3 separate regions of the Homo sapiens genome follow, and regions 2 and 3 are each linked to region 1. Evidence: promoter capture Hi-C in human tissues and cell types (Jung and others, 2019). All regions are on one chromosome and are shown on one strand. Each heading gives the region's core, a stretch centred on a gene start or on the middle of the fragment in contact. The rest is flanking DNA. Distances are from core to core; before and after follow the strand shown. Region 1 holds the start of MATN2 (matrilin 2). Region 2 has its middle 96 kb from the start of MTDH. Region 3 has its middle 37 kb from the start of MTDH.

Region 1 (4,877 bases), core at 1,559-4,058:
ATCTCATCCATGTCAAAGCCACTGTCATAGTCATTAACACCAATTACTGGCAACAGCCCAGCCCTGCCATTCCATCTGAGCCCCCTTCAGGCAGTATTGGCTGTCTGCCGAGCCACATGGCAGGGTTCAAGGATGGCCTCATGGGCTGAAGCTCCAAGTGGCAAGTGGCCCCTTGGAAGGACCTCCCTGGCACCATTCACTAGCAACAGCAATGACATTCCCCATTCTCCCCTTGGCATATGCTCAGCCTCCCTCTTTCCCTGGCCCTCCTGAGTTATCTTGCCATATGCTTTAAACAGGGGAGTCCTCCATAGCTTCCCTAGAAGACGGGGAATCCCTGGAAGGGACGCTCCTGCAGGTGCTACAGATCAGAGGGCAGTGAGTGCCAGGGGCAGCACTAGAGGCTCTCTGCCAACTTGACTGGTCTTAAACCACTCACCTCTCCTACTGCTTGCCCAGCCTCATACCCAACACCTTGCTCAGGCCAGCGTTAGACCTGTCACACCCTCTTCGGCCTGCTTTTCCTGAGGCCTAAGCCGGTCTCTCCCCCTTTTAGTCTCCCCACCTCACTCCTTGCCCTCTCTTAGGTGCCAGTCAGAACTGTTTCTAAATAAACTGTAGAATTATTTTTCCAGAACCTCCAATGGCTCTCTTATTTCAAAGAGCAAACATCTCTCCTTTTCTTTAAATCTCAGGCCACACTTTTAACTACCTTTTGCTAAACAAGGACATATGGCACTCGCTGATAAGAGCTTAGGGCATGACAGCTGCTCGAGGGTGTTTCAGATTTGGACTCTGCTCTGACACCTCCAACAAGCAAGCTTAGGCCTTGGTGGCCCTGGGTTGCCTGGGAACAAGAAACCCCAGAGCCCCGATTTATAGAAGACAGTGTCCTGGTAACTCGGGGGCCTGAGATTGAATTCTATTGGCAGAAATAAAAGTAAAAAGTGTGGACAGATAGGAAAATGCAAGGTGAAGAGCCATAAGTATCTCATTCTCCACAGAGGATTCTAAGTGCCAAGTTTCAGGGACTGAGAGGAAACATTCCAGGTCATAAACCCATGTTGGTATTTTGACATGGTTTTATGAGGTTGGCCCTTTGGGAGCAAGCAGGGAGAACTGCGCCCGTGTGGACTCCTGCATGGAACTACCAGTTGCATACACGTGGCTTATCTGCCACCCTCACGTACCCATGGAGAGCCTCTCTTTCTGAACTGGGGAAGAGGTACATTCACTGCTCATAGCAGCTCCTTGCTATTTCTGCAAAGACAAGCCATGGAACTCACCTAATCTTAGAATGCTCCTGGAAATGTTCTAAGGACTTTACTTGCCATATCTTTTTTTTTTTCTTTTGAGACGGAGTTTAGCTCTTGTTGCCCAGGCTGGAGTGCAATGGCACCATCTCCGCTCACTGCAATCTCTGCCTCCTGGGTTCAACCGATTCTCCTGCCTCAACCTCCCGAGTAGCTGGGATTACAGGCATGCGCCACCAAGTCCGGCTAATTTTGTATTTTTAGTAGAGACGGGGTTTCTCCATGTTGGTCAGGCTGGTCTCGAACTCCCGACCTCAGGTGATCCGCCCGCCCCGGCTTCCCAAAGTGCTGGGATGACAGCCCTGAGCCACCGTGCCCGGCCGCCATATCTCATTTAATCCTCACAGTTCTGTGGGTATTACCATCCTCATTAGACAGATGAGGAAACTGAGGCATACTTGGGTACCTTCAAGTTATCAACCCTGTAAACTTCACAGCTGGGGTTGAAACCCAAGCAGGCTGACCCCAGTCTCTGCTCTCGACCACGGGTCCCTGAAGTCTCTTGACTGCCCCATTCCTTAAAGGCCGATTTTAAGTGTGCTTGGTGCAGATGCATTGTGGCTTCCTGATTTATGACAAATTGAAACTTGGTCAATTGGGTTTGTTCAGGGTGGGCGCGAGTGTCCCTGAGGAGAGCACTTTCCTGTGCCCCCAGTCCTGGAGACCCTACCAGGGACAGTCCCCATTTCTCTGTCCTCTCCCCAAACGGCTCCAAATTGTTCTGGGGTTTCTAGCAACTACCACAAAATGCCTTCCCCTTTCTCTCCCTCTTCCACAATATAGGGAAGCTGGAGGTTTAGCTGCCATAGAGACCCAAGAACAAAATCCAGATGACACGGGCATGAAAATACCAGGTTCCGAAGAGGGAAGGGGGAGCCATCGGCTGTCCGTGGAATAGGAATCACCCTGCATACCCGCTCAACAGGTCTCCCTTTCCCTGGGTCGCGGTGGCCGGGGTCTGGGCGTCCCCGCTGCGTGCCACAGCGCCCCCACGGGGCACTCCGGGGCGGCTGCAGCGCGGCTTGTCCTGCGCAGGGAGCGCGCCCAGCTCTCCCGGCCGAGGGGTCGGGCAGCGCCGCCCTCCCTCTCCCCCTGTCCTCGGAGGGGTCGAAGGCGCCGGGGCCCCGGGGCGCTGGGGGCTGCAGTGCGGGCCTGGGGAGGGCGCCTGCGCGTCGGGCAGCCCAGGCTCGGTATTCTGTCGGTGGGTCGGTCCGCCTGCACTTCGAGGCCGCCCGGCCGCGCAGAGCCGGGGGAAAGCGCGCCGCGCTCACCTGCAGCCGCCGGCGCCTGGGAAGCGAGGCAGGGGCGCAGCCACCCGGGTCTTCCTCGTCGGCCTCTTCGCCTCGCCGAGGGCCGCGGCTCTCCTCGGGGATCGCTCGTGGGAGGCGAGGACGGAGCCCCAGCTTCTGCCTCTGCCTCTGTCTCCGCCGCCGCCGCTTGCTCCAAGTCCCATCCCAGAGCGCTCCCTTCGCTCGCTGGCTGCCTGGGAGGCGCTGGGCAAGGGCGGGCGGCTGGGGAGGCGGTGCCGCGGCGGGGGTGGGGAGCGGGCCGGGCGGAAGGAGGGGTGTCCTCTTTGGGGATGGGGAAGGCGCGGAGAGGGAGCGGCGGCGAGGGCGGCCCCACCCTGTGGGCAGCCCCGGGAGCTGGGCACTCTGGCGGCGCGCCCTGCCTGCTGCCACCTGGCTCCACTCCGTCCGTGCCTGAGCCCAGGCGGGCATCAGACTCCAGGGGTCCGGAGCCGCAGGCACGGAACACAGGCAGCTTTAGGGGCCTGTCGGGTTGGGAGTGCGGGGAGGGGTCTTCTGGGGGAAAGGAGACATGGCAGGAATCTTACATCTAGAACTTGGGGTCATGACCTGCGGGACGCACCCACTGACGCGGGGATGGAGAAAAAAGTGGTGAGAATTGGGCTAATTGATGACAAGCGCCAAGAGCTGTCTTGCCAGTGCCCAGAGCACCCCACCAGTGCCAGTTCATATTAACAGAGCGTCCACTGGCTGGGGACCAGGCCCCGGGATGGGGAGGAGGTAAAGATGCCAGGATGGAGAGGAGACAAAATTCCTACCCCGAGGGAGCAGGGAAAGTCTAGTTCAGACAAGACTTTTGAAATTATGAGCAGAGACATTTGCAACTTTGCAGAATGGAGGAACCTCACCTTGGATGTCCCCATGGAGCCTTGGAGGGATGCAGAAGACAGGATTGGCCAGCGACAGTCAAAGTGGCCGGCACCCCCCTCTACCAGCTCCCCAGTTCCTGGAGGCTGGGGTGAGTGGATGTATAACAGACCAGGACATCTCCTATAAAGCTCCAAAATTCTGTTCCCAAACCACTAGCCAACGCACCCAGTTCAGGTTTTGTGTTTTTGTTTGTTTGTTTGTTTTTTGAGACGGAGTCGCCCAGGCTGGAGTGCAGTGGCGCAATCTTGGCTTACTGCAAGCTCTGCCTCCCGGATTCACGCCATTCTCCTGCCTCAGAGTAGCTGGGACTACAGGCTCCCGCCACCACGGCCGGCTAATTTTTTTTGTATTTTCAGTAGAGACGGGGTTTCACCGTGTTAGCCAGGATGGTGTCGATCTCCTGACCTCGTGATCCGCCCGCCTCGGCCTCCCAAAGTGCTGGGATTACAGGCGTGAGCCACTGCGCCCGGCCCCAGTTCAGGTTTTAACAAGCTACCAGCAGAGGCAGCAGCACTAACTAGTTTCAAAACCTCTGGATGTGCCACAGTCTGATAATTTGGTGCTTTGGGCGGACTTTGTTTTGTAATTAACCATCATTCCTATTTGATGATAGAGTTGATTTCTGAAATATGAATAAACGCCAAAATCAATTCTTCAGAAAAGCTCCAGGAGGGGTAATTAAAATTCCAGCCATGAAGCAAGGGGTTAACATACTCGAGCCATCAGGCAAGTCAATGATACCTTAATACCAAGAAAGAATTGTGGATTCCTGTTCCTTTACCCAGTACCTTAGGCCCACTGGGCACTCTTGGCTGCCTGCACTGATCACAAATAGTTTTTTTGTTATGTCTTTGGGAGGAGGTAGGTGGAGGTCAGAAAGCAGAGGAAAGTCTTCAGGAAATGTTTGGTCTCTGAAGTCTTGGATCCCATAGAAGAAAATTCTTCCTGAGTCTGGGCCAGTGAAAATCCCCTAGGAACTTGGGAAGTTGAGCTACAGTTTATGGAAACTTAAATTTAAAATGTGTTGACTTATTCCAAGACACCAGTGTGATCCAGTAATTTACCAGGAAAACAATAACAATCCCCAAACCCTTCCAAATTGTAAGGAAATTGTAATTTAGTAACTGATTCCAGTGACTCTGGTGTATGCCAATTAAAATGGGTGTTTTCCCCCCAGGGAGTTCTATTGGAATTCTTCAGAATAGTTAATCTATGTACAAATTACACTTGGGGCCAAGTCAAATAGGTTAAATGAGTTGTTCTACCTTGTGGGATGATCTTCAGGTCTGCCAGAAAAAAATGAAGGAAAAGCAAGTTCAATGTCCTGAAATATAAAGGCAGAACAAACAATGAAATGATTTCTGGGTTACCTTCAGGATGAATTGCA
Region 2 (4,877 bases), core at 1,529-4,028, 320 kb after region 1:
AGTTTCCCATGGTAACCTTTATATGCCTTCAGCTTTGCATGAATAAGATGATGGCGACAGAGATATGACTGCAACAAAATCAATAGTAAACACTATTCCAGACAGGATTTTAGTCTTGGCACCTAGTTGTGTCAAGCACATGGTATCCACTCAGTGAAAGTTTGCTGAATAAATAGAATAAATGAATACATAAATTAGTGGAATTGGATCCTTCACGGCAGTGTCCTTTATTGCTTTGTAACTGAGTTTGTTTCTATAATTTCCTGGCAGGATATCTAGAAGTGAGGGAGGCTCAGTGGATATTGACAATGATATGGCCAAAGTCATTAATTTAGAGTAGTAGTAAGTTTTGATTTTGCCATATTACCTCCTGTCGTATCAGGGTCACTTGCTCCTGAGCATATTAATAGGCTGGTATTTGATCCTATACAAAGATTTCAGAGGTACTGTGACTGTCATTGTCTTTTTAAATTTATTTTAGATGGACTCTCACTCTGTCACCCAGGCTGGTGTGCAGTGGCGTGATTTTGGCTCACTGCAACCTCCACCTCCTGGGTTCAAGCAATTCTCTGCCTCAGCCTCCCAAGTAGCGGGATTGCAGGTGTGTGCCATTATGCCCAGGTGATTTTTGTATTTTTAGTAAAGACCAGGTTTCACTATGTTGGCCAGGCTGGTTTTGAACCCCTGACCTCAATTGATCCACTTGCCTCAGCCTCCCAAAGTGCTGGGATTACAGGTGTGAGCCACTGTACCCGGCCTCATTGTTTTTAAAATCGAAGGCAACTACATGGCCTATAGCAATGACTGTGACATTTCTGCTTTCAGTTTCTGGTAAGTCCCTACATTAAGTTCCCATTTAGCTAAAAATGATGTTGCCATAAGTGTTTCCTGACCACAGGATTTAATACCAATGGATTCATTCAACATATATTTTTTGGGCGCCTACTATGTGCCAGGGACTTTTAAAGCAGTGAAGAGTTTTCTCTGAACAAAATGCCACCATGGAGCTTAAATTTCAATGGAACGATAATAAGCAGATAAAAATCTAAAACAACGTCAGATATTGGTAAATGCTACGATGGTGAGAGAGAGCGCCATCAAGAAAGGTTTCTGGGGTATGGGTGAGAGTACCCTTTATAGTTATGGGGGAGGTGGGTAGAGATCTATTTTCAGGAACAACATCAAGAGATCTGTTTTAGCTATGTTAAATTGGAGATGCCTATTAAACTACTGAACATCAGTTTCTCCTCATATCAGATTTATATCTATGTGCACGTGTGTGTGTGTGTGTATGTGTGTGTAAAATAATGTGAAGAAATGTGAATGAGTTAAAAGGGTTCTGGATGAGAAGCAGTCAGCCAGAAAGCTAGGACCCAATCATAGCAAAAAAAAAAAAAAAATTACCTTGACCAAATAGCTTAATCTTACTAGGTCTTCTTTTATCTTTAAAATAAGAAGATTCATCAAGATTATCTCTTCTTACGATTTTCAAATCCTGCGATTCTGGGTTTGGGACTTCCTATCCTATAACCCTAGATCCATAGAGTAGCTACCAAGCAATATGGTTGCCCTAAGAAATTCATCAATAACCTAAGCTTTTCATGAAGGCAAAGTTGTTTGGGAAGAAGAAATTGTTCTTTCTCTGACCCATTCATGCTCCATTCACAATAGATATGCTCATGACAGACCCATGATGAAAGGAGTTTTCCATTGCTGTGTGGACTAGTTCTTACATCATGGGTGGGCTGTGGTTGTTCTGTCCTCAAGGTGTTATACTGTGGGCCTGTTATGAGGGAAGCCACCTCTATTGCATGAGAGGAAGAGTTTAATCTTTCAATGGTGAAATTATGCATTTAGGTGAGCAATACCATCCCACCTCCACTGAGATACTTACCATATGGCCACGCACTGTATCTCTGAAATCCAGTGGGCTTGTCTCAGTTTTCACATTGCTTGACTGCTTTATGTCATGTGGCATTGCTGCTGAAACTCACAGAACTGTCCACCATAGCCTCCCGATCCAGACAACACCCATTCTCTGATTCCTTCCCTGAGTCCTGCTGCCCTGTGCCATTTACTGACTTTTCCTCTTTCCCCCTTCCCTTAAAAATATAAGAATCTCTTCATAAGGATCCATTCCTGGTGTTTTGTTTAGTTTCTTCCCTCTTTTTTCTGTATATACTTCCTGGGCCATATTATTTTCTGCCTTTGCTCCTCCCACCACTCAGATAGTATTCATTCCTAAGTTATCAGCCCTCTCTTAGTAGCTGCTTATTTAACAATTAGGCATCTCTGTTTGCGTGTCTTCGAGGCTCCTCCCCATGTCAGTTCCAAAATAGAACTAATGATCTGCTTTCTCCCTTCCCAAACTGGTCCCCCCACCTCCTTTCTGTATCTTGCTTAATCTGACCATTGAATCATTTAAGCTAGAAGTCTCAGAGTCAGTCAGCTTCTTTATTTCCATCTTGTTCATTGTGGTAGTCAGGCTTCAAGCTGGCCCTTCATGATCCTTACCTCCTATATTCACCTCTTTTTAGGGGCCCTTCCTACAGTGCATCATGTTTGGTCACTATGGCCAAAGAATATACAAGCAGTCGTGGTGTGTGACTTCTAAGGCTAGGCCATAAGAGAAATTGCCACTGTACCATATTCTCTTTTGGGTCACTCACTCTGGGTAAAGCCAGCTGCCACATCATGAGGACATTCAAGCAGCCTCATGGAAAGGTCCATATGATAAGAAACGGAAGCCTCTTGCTAACAGTTAGCATCAACTTCCCAGCTATAGAAGTGAACCATTTTGGAAGTGGATCCTCCAGCCCCAGTCAAACCTTCAGATGACTGCAGCCCTGGCCAAAATCTTGACTGCAACCTCATGAGAAATCCTGAGCCAGGACCACCAGCTAAGCTGTTCTTGAACTTTCTGACCCACAGAAACTGTGAGATAATGTCTTTTATCATTGTTTTAAGTCAATAAGTTTTGGGGTAATTTTTACATAGGAATAGGTGAAAAAAAATCTATATAGCACATTTTGATAATCACTATATTCTTTGATATTGCAATGTAATATTGTTGATATTGCAATGTAAATATTTCTTAAATATAACTCATTTTCTTCACTTCCACTGTTATTGCTCTTATTTTAGGCCTTTATTATCTCTTTCCTGGAGTATTGCAATATCTCTGTATTGGTTTTGTGCCTGTAATTAACTTCCTCTACTACTTCTAATCCATCCTCCATATTGTCTCAATTATCTTTTAAAAATATAAATCTCATCATGCTGGTCTCCTGCTCTATCAGTCAAGATAGCCTGCAGCTTTTATGCAGTAATAAGAAAGCCCCTGCAAATCAAAGTGGCTAAGACAACAAAGTCTTAATTCTTACTCCCATTACAAATCCACTGTCATTCAGCAGGAAGGCTCTGCTCACTGCAGTGCAGGGCAGGTGAGCCCTAACACTGGGGCTTAGCCCAGGACAGTTCTTGGCTTTGCTCAGGAAAGAATGCAAGAGCAAGCTGGTGGTAGAAGAAAACAGCTTTATTGAGGAGGTGGTGTTATAGCTTGGTCACTGCTCCTGCAGAGCAGGACTACCTCATAGGCAGTGTGCTGCGAGCAGCAACTCAGGGAAGTTCTGCAGTCATATTTATACCAACTTTTAATCATATGCAATTAAGCAGTGGGTTATTCAGAAATTTCTAGAGAAAGGGTGAAAACTTCCTGCTAGTTGCCATGGGAAGAGGTGGTAACTTCTGTGTATTGCCATGGCAATTGTAAACTGTCATGGTGCTGGTGGGCACATCTTATGGAGAGGTGCTTTCAGCGCCACTTCCATGTTTCAGTCAGTCTTTAATCTGGTCTGGAGTTGAGTCCTGCCTCCTACCTCAATTGTAATCACTCAGGAACCCAGGCGGACAGAAAAGCCACTATCTTTTTTTTTTTTCTAATTTTTTTATTATACTTTAAGTTTTAGGGTACGTGTGCACAACATGCAGGTTTGTTACATATGTATACATGTGCCATGTTGGTGTGCTGCACCCATTAACTCGTCATTTACATTAGGTATATCTCCTAATGCTATCCCTCCACCCTCCCCCCACCCGACAACAGTCTCCAGTGTGTGATGTTCCCCATCCTGTGTCCATGTGTTCTCATTGTTCAATTCCCACCTATGAGTGAGAACATGCGGTGTTTGGTTTTCTGTCCTTGCAATAGTTTGCTGAGAATGATGGTTTCCAGCTTCATCCATGTCCTTAAAAAGGACATGAACTCATCCTTTCTTATGGCTGCATAGTATTCCATGATGTATATGTGCCACATTTTCTTTTCTTTTCTTTTTTTTTTTTTTTGAGACGGAGCCTCGCTCTATCGCCCAGACTGGTGTGCAGTGGCCCGATCTTGGCTCACTGCAAACTTCGCCTCCCAGGTTCACGCCGTTCTCCTGTCTCAGCCTCCTGAGTAGCTGGGACTACTGGCGCCTGCCACCATGCTCGGCTAATTTTTTGTATTTTTAGTAGAGACGGGGTTTCACCGTGTTAGCCAGGATGGTCTTGATCTCCTGAACTTGTGATCCGCCCGCCTCGGCCTCCCAAAGTGCTGGGATTACAGGCGTGAGCCACCGCGCCCAGCCGTGCCACATTTTCTTAATCCAGTCTATCATTGATGGACATATGGGTTGGTTCCAAGTCTTTGCTATTGTGAATAGTGCCGCAATAAACATACATGTGCATGTGTCTTGATAGCAGCATGATTTATAATCCTTTGGGTATATACCCAGTAATGGGATGGCTGGGTCAAATGGTATTTCTAGTTCTAGATCCTTGAGGAATCGCCACACTGTCTTCCACAATGGTTGAACTAGTTTACAGTCCCATCAACAGTG
Region 3 (4,877 bases), core at 1,135-3,634, 260 kb after region 1:
CATTGGCCCAAACTAATCACATGACTACCTATTTGGAAGAATGTTTGGGAAATTTGAGGGTTCATATGGATATTCTAACAACATTAAGTATTTCATTGAGGTTTCTGGTATGATAAACATTCAAATTTAGACTCCACTTATATTCTCTCATAGCACACTATATTCCCCTTCCTAGTAGTCACCATAGTTGAGATTACATTAATTCCTAATATCTTCTTACTCTCTATTGTAATGATCTGTTTAGTTATTTGTCCCTCCCAAAGCTTCATATAGGCAGGGACCATGTCTGTTTTATTCAGAGTTGTATTTCGAGTTCTGAGCACAGTGCCTGGCGTATAATACAGTAGTTTGCCAAACTTACTGCTGTATTTGTTAAATGAATGAATATGCATATAATCTATATTGCTTGACCTATAGAAGGGAAGAGAGTTTCCCTTCTATGTAAGTGAATGATAAATAAGTGCTTTCAAAAACTGAAAACGAGGATGACAGCATCTACATTATCAGTAATCTGAGAGTGTGGTGGTGGGCTTGATTTGCAGTTATGTCTTTTCAACAACTGAGCACCTATTATTTCTCCGATTGCATACAAAATATTGACATATTCTCTTCAGTGGAAAAAATTGATAAAATAGGAAATCTATAACATTTTAGATTTTTCTAATTATAGTGATTGATTCTGCATTTTCTCTACTCTCTTTTTTTTTTTTTTTTTAACAGACAGAGTCTTATTCTGTTGCTCAGGCTGGAGTGCAGTAGTGTGATCAAAGCTCACTGTGATCTCAAACTCTTGGGCTCAAGTGATCCTGCTGCCTCAGCCTTCTGAGTAGCTAGGGCTACAGGTGTACACCACCACAGCCGGTTAATTTTTAAATTTTTTATAGAGACGGAGTCTGACTATGTTACCCAGGCTGGTCTCGAATTCCTGGCCTCAAGCAATCCTCCCGACTCAGCCTCCCAAAGTGCTGGGATTACAGGCATAAACCACCACGCCTGCCTCTACTCTTTCTTTTAATTTCTTACCTCTTATTACTACGTAAAAGCCTTTAGAATCAGTAAATTTGTGGTAAAACAACTCTGTTTGTATATGGTTCAAATTCATCTTGTTTCACCTGTGAATCTAGCAGAAAATTTTTAAAAATCATGTTTTTATGATCCAGTATTTTATCTCTGGTGTTTGAAGAATCCTTGTGAATATTTATCTCTGTTTCTAAGAAAAGAATAAAGAATTAGTCTGATCTCTTATGACATAAAAAGTGATCTCCTCCCACAACAGAATGTGTTGGGTAGATAACAGTTTTCAACCTCAAAGCTATATATTAAAGTCAGAGACTTAATGTCTCGGCCATTAGATGCAAGCAGAATAATGAAGATAGCTATCCTGAGTTATATTCGGGAGAAAAGATAATATTGGTCTTAATTAGACCAGGGATGAACTCCAGACCAATTTTTTAAAAACTTGGTAATAAGTTATTCTAAGCTTGATTCATTACGTTTCTGAAAAGTCTCCTTTATTTATTTATATTTTTCTTTTCTTTTCTTTTTTTTTTTTGGAGACAGGGTCTAACTGTGTCACCCTGGCTGAAGTGCAGTGGCCTGCATGGCTCACTCAGGCTAGACCTCTCAGGCTCAAGTCATCCTCCCACCTCGGCTTCCTGAGTAGCTGGGACTACAGGTGTGTGCCACCACACCTAGTTTTTGTATTTTTGTAGAGAGGAGATCTGCCTATATGCCTGGGCTGATCCAGAACTCTTGGGCTCAAGTAATCCTTCTGCCTTGGCCTCCCAAAGTGCTGGGATTACAGGCATGAGCCACGTTGCATGACCCTTTTAGTTTTTTTTTTTTTTTTTTAATAATTGAGACAAGGTCTTGCTATGTTGCCCAGGCTGGTCTCCAATTCATGGGCTTAAGCAATCCTCCTGCCTCGGCCTTCCAAAATGCTGGGATTACAGGTGTGAGCCACGGTGGCTGGCCAAAAGTCCCCTTTAATATCTTGATCAGACAAGTTAATTTATTTGGAGTCGTGGATGATTTGAAGTTGATGTCACTACTCCAGCCTTATATAGTAGCTCCGCAGGTACTGCAGAAATGAACAAACAGTTCAGTGCTGGTGTCAGCCTGACCAGTGTGTGGTGGACACTTCCCTTTCTCCCAGATGGTCTTACAGGCAGGCCAGCTGGGCCACTGCCAGAAGCTTCTGATTGCTATTGGAAATGGACCAAACTTCATACATCAGGGGAAGTAAGAGGCAAGCTGTTCTCCATTGTTCAAATTTTTCCATTCAAACTCATATTCCCTTGAGGACCATATGTCTTTTTGCCTGTCTCCAAGTATATTGCCTGCTTTTTCATTCCTTGAAAGGCTCAGTAATACTTTTTTTGGTAAAGTGTTGAAATAGGCTTTTTACTATGAATAGAAGTAGTGATACATTTTCCTTGGCATGGCTTGGACATGCTATTGTTTTCCCAATTATTTTTGTTATGTATTTTGGAGAGTTTTTTTTAATTTTTATTGTTTTGAGACAGAGTTTCGCTCTGTCCACTGCCCAGGCTGGAGTGCAGTGGCGCGATCTTGGCTCACTGCAACCTCTACCTCCCGGCCTCAAGCAATTCTCCTGTGTCAGCCTCCCGAGTAGCTGGGATTAAGGCATGCACCACCATGCCCGGCTAATATTTTTTGTATTTTTAGTAAAAATAGGGTTTCACCATGTTGGTCAGGCTGGTCACGAACTCCTGACCTCAGGTGATCTGCCCGCCTCGGCCTCCCAAAGTGCTGGGATTACAGGCGTGAGCCACCATGCCCAGCCAAAGTTTTTGAATGGCTGAAACCCAGATGCCAGCTGTCCCCAAGGACACCTTCTGTTCTCATTTCATGCAAACCTAGACACATGGCTTGGCATCATTATGCAGTCTCCAGAAAACCCACTTATGAGACAATGGTTACTTAGTATGTGGATTTGAGTCTTTTGCTACATGATCTTTGATACATTAATTAACCTCTCCAAGCCTCAGTTTCCTTACCTCTAAAATGGAGATTATGGTAATAGTACCTACCTCACAGTAGGTACTACTGTGTTGTGAAGATAAAAAAATGATGATTTATGTTAATTGTTCAATAAATTGTAGCTGTTTTTTAATCTGCAATATAGATTTTTAAAAATTAAGGGAAGTTTCTAATGTATATAAAAGTAAAGAGAAAAGTACAATAAACTGCCATGTACTGGTCTTCCAGCTTCAATGATTATTAGTTCATGAACCATCTTATTTCATCTTATTTCTCACTCTTTACCCATTTGAAGCAAATTTCAGATTTCATATAATTTTACTCATAAATATTTCAGTATATATATATATATATATATATAAAATTTATTTTTTTGAGATGGAGTCTCACTCTGTCACCCAGGCTGGAGTGCAATGGCGCCGCTCTTGGCTCACTGCAACCTCTGCCTCCTGCCTCAGCCTCCTGAGTAGCTGAGATTACAGGTGCCTGCCACCATGCCTGGCTAATTTTTGTACTTTTAGTAGAGACAGGGTTTCACTATGTTGGTCAGGCTGGTCTCGAACTCCTGACCACAAGCAATCCACCCGCCTCGGCCTCCCAAAGTGCTGGGATTACAAGCGTGAGCCACTGCGCCCAGCCCTAGTATATGTTTTTGAGAGATAAAAAAGCCTCATGTTGTAAAATAACCATAATGCCATTATCACATATTAACATTAATAAAAATTCCTAAAGGCCACCACCGTGGCTCACACCTGTAATCCCAGCACTTTGGGAGGCCACTGTGGACAGATTGCTTGAGCTCAGGAGTTTGACACCAGCCTGGGCAACATGATGAAACCCTGTCTCTAACAAAAATACAAAAAAAATTAGCCGGGAGTGGTGATGCGCACCTCTGTTCCCAGCTACTCGGGAGGCTGAGTTGGGAGGATCACTTGAGTCTGGGATGTGGAGGTTGCAGTAAGCCGAGGTCTCGCCATTGCACTTTGGCCTGGGCGACAGAGACAGACCCTGTCTCAAGAAAAAAAATTAAAATCTTTTTTTTTTTTCCAAGGCAGAAGAGTTTTTCTTAGTACAGAACAAAATGGAGTCTCCCATGTCTACTTCTTTCTACACAGACACAGTAACAATCTGATCTCTCTTTCTTTTCCCCACATTTCCCTCTTTTCTATTCGACAAAACCGCCATCGTCATCATGGCCCGTTCTCAATGAGCTGTTGGGTACACCTCCCAGACGGGGTGGCGGCCGGGCAGAGAGGCTCCTCACTTCCCAGATGGGGCGGCCGGGCAGAGGCGCCCCCCACCTCCCAGACGGGGCGGCTGGTGGGGAGGGGGCTGCCTCCCACCTCCCTCCCGGACGGGGCAGCTGGCCGGGCGGGGGCTGCCCCCTACCTTCTGGACCGGGTGGCTGCCGGGTGGAGACGCTCCTCACTTCCCAGACGGGGCGGCTGCTGGGCAGAGACGCTCCTCACCTCCCAGACGGGGTGGCGGTCGGGCAGAGACACTCCTCAGTTCCCAGAGGGGGTCGCGGCCGGGCAGAGGCGCTTCTCACATCTCAGACGATGGGCGGTCGGGCAGAGACGCTCCTCACTTCCTAGACGGGATGGCGGCCGGGAAGAGGCGCTCCTCACTTCCCAGACTGGGCGGCCGGGCAGAGGGGCTCCTCACATCCCAGACGATGGGCTGCCAGGCAGAGATGCTCCTCACTTCCTAGACGGGATGGTGGCCGGGAAGAAGCGCTCCTCACTTCCCAGACTGGGCGGCCAGGCAGAGGGGCTCCTCACATCCCAGACGATGGGCGGCCAGGCAGAGATGCTCCTCACTTCCCAGACGGGGTGGTGGCCGGGCAGAGGCTGCAATTTCGGCACTTTGGGAAG

What was found. Contacts are between HindIII fragments. The study calls those that stand out against the background at their distance.
Region 2: a fragment that was not itself captured here is called in contact with the fragment with the promoter of MATN2 in region 1 in 1 of the 25 tissues and cell types used here (spleen).
Region 3: a fragment that was not itself captured here is called in contact with the fragment with the promoter of MATN2 in region 1 in 1 of the 25 tissues and cell types used here (H1 embryonic stem cells).

The regions. Positions count from the first base shown.
Region 1 is chr8:97,866,995-97,871,871 of GRCh38, reverse strand. It overlaps MATN2 (matrilin 2), which reads right to left and starts at 2,808. Exons shown (of 19, transcript NM_002380.5): 1 at 2,585-2,808. RefSeq lists an enhancer at 3,208-3,707. The HindIII fragment of the contact is 19,586 bases long and covers 1-4,877 here.
Region 2 is chr8:97,545,969-97,550,845 of GRCh38, reverse strand. No RefSeq gene overlaps it. Among named protein-coding and RNA genes, the nearest start is that of MTDH, 96 kb to the left of the region's middle. The HindIII fragment of the contact is 5,626 bases long and covers 1-4,877 here.
Region 3 is chr8:97,604,734-97,609,610 of GRCh38, reverse strand. No RefSeq gene overlaps it. Among named protein-coding and RNA genes, the nearest start is that of MTDH, 37 kb to the left of the region's middle. The HindIII fragment of the contact is 3,024 bases long and covers 873-3,896 here.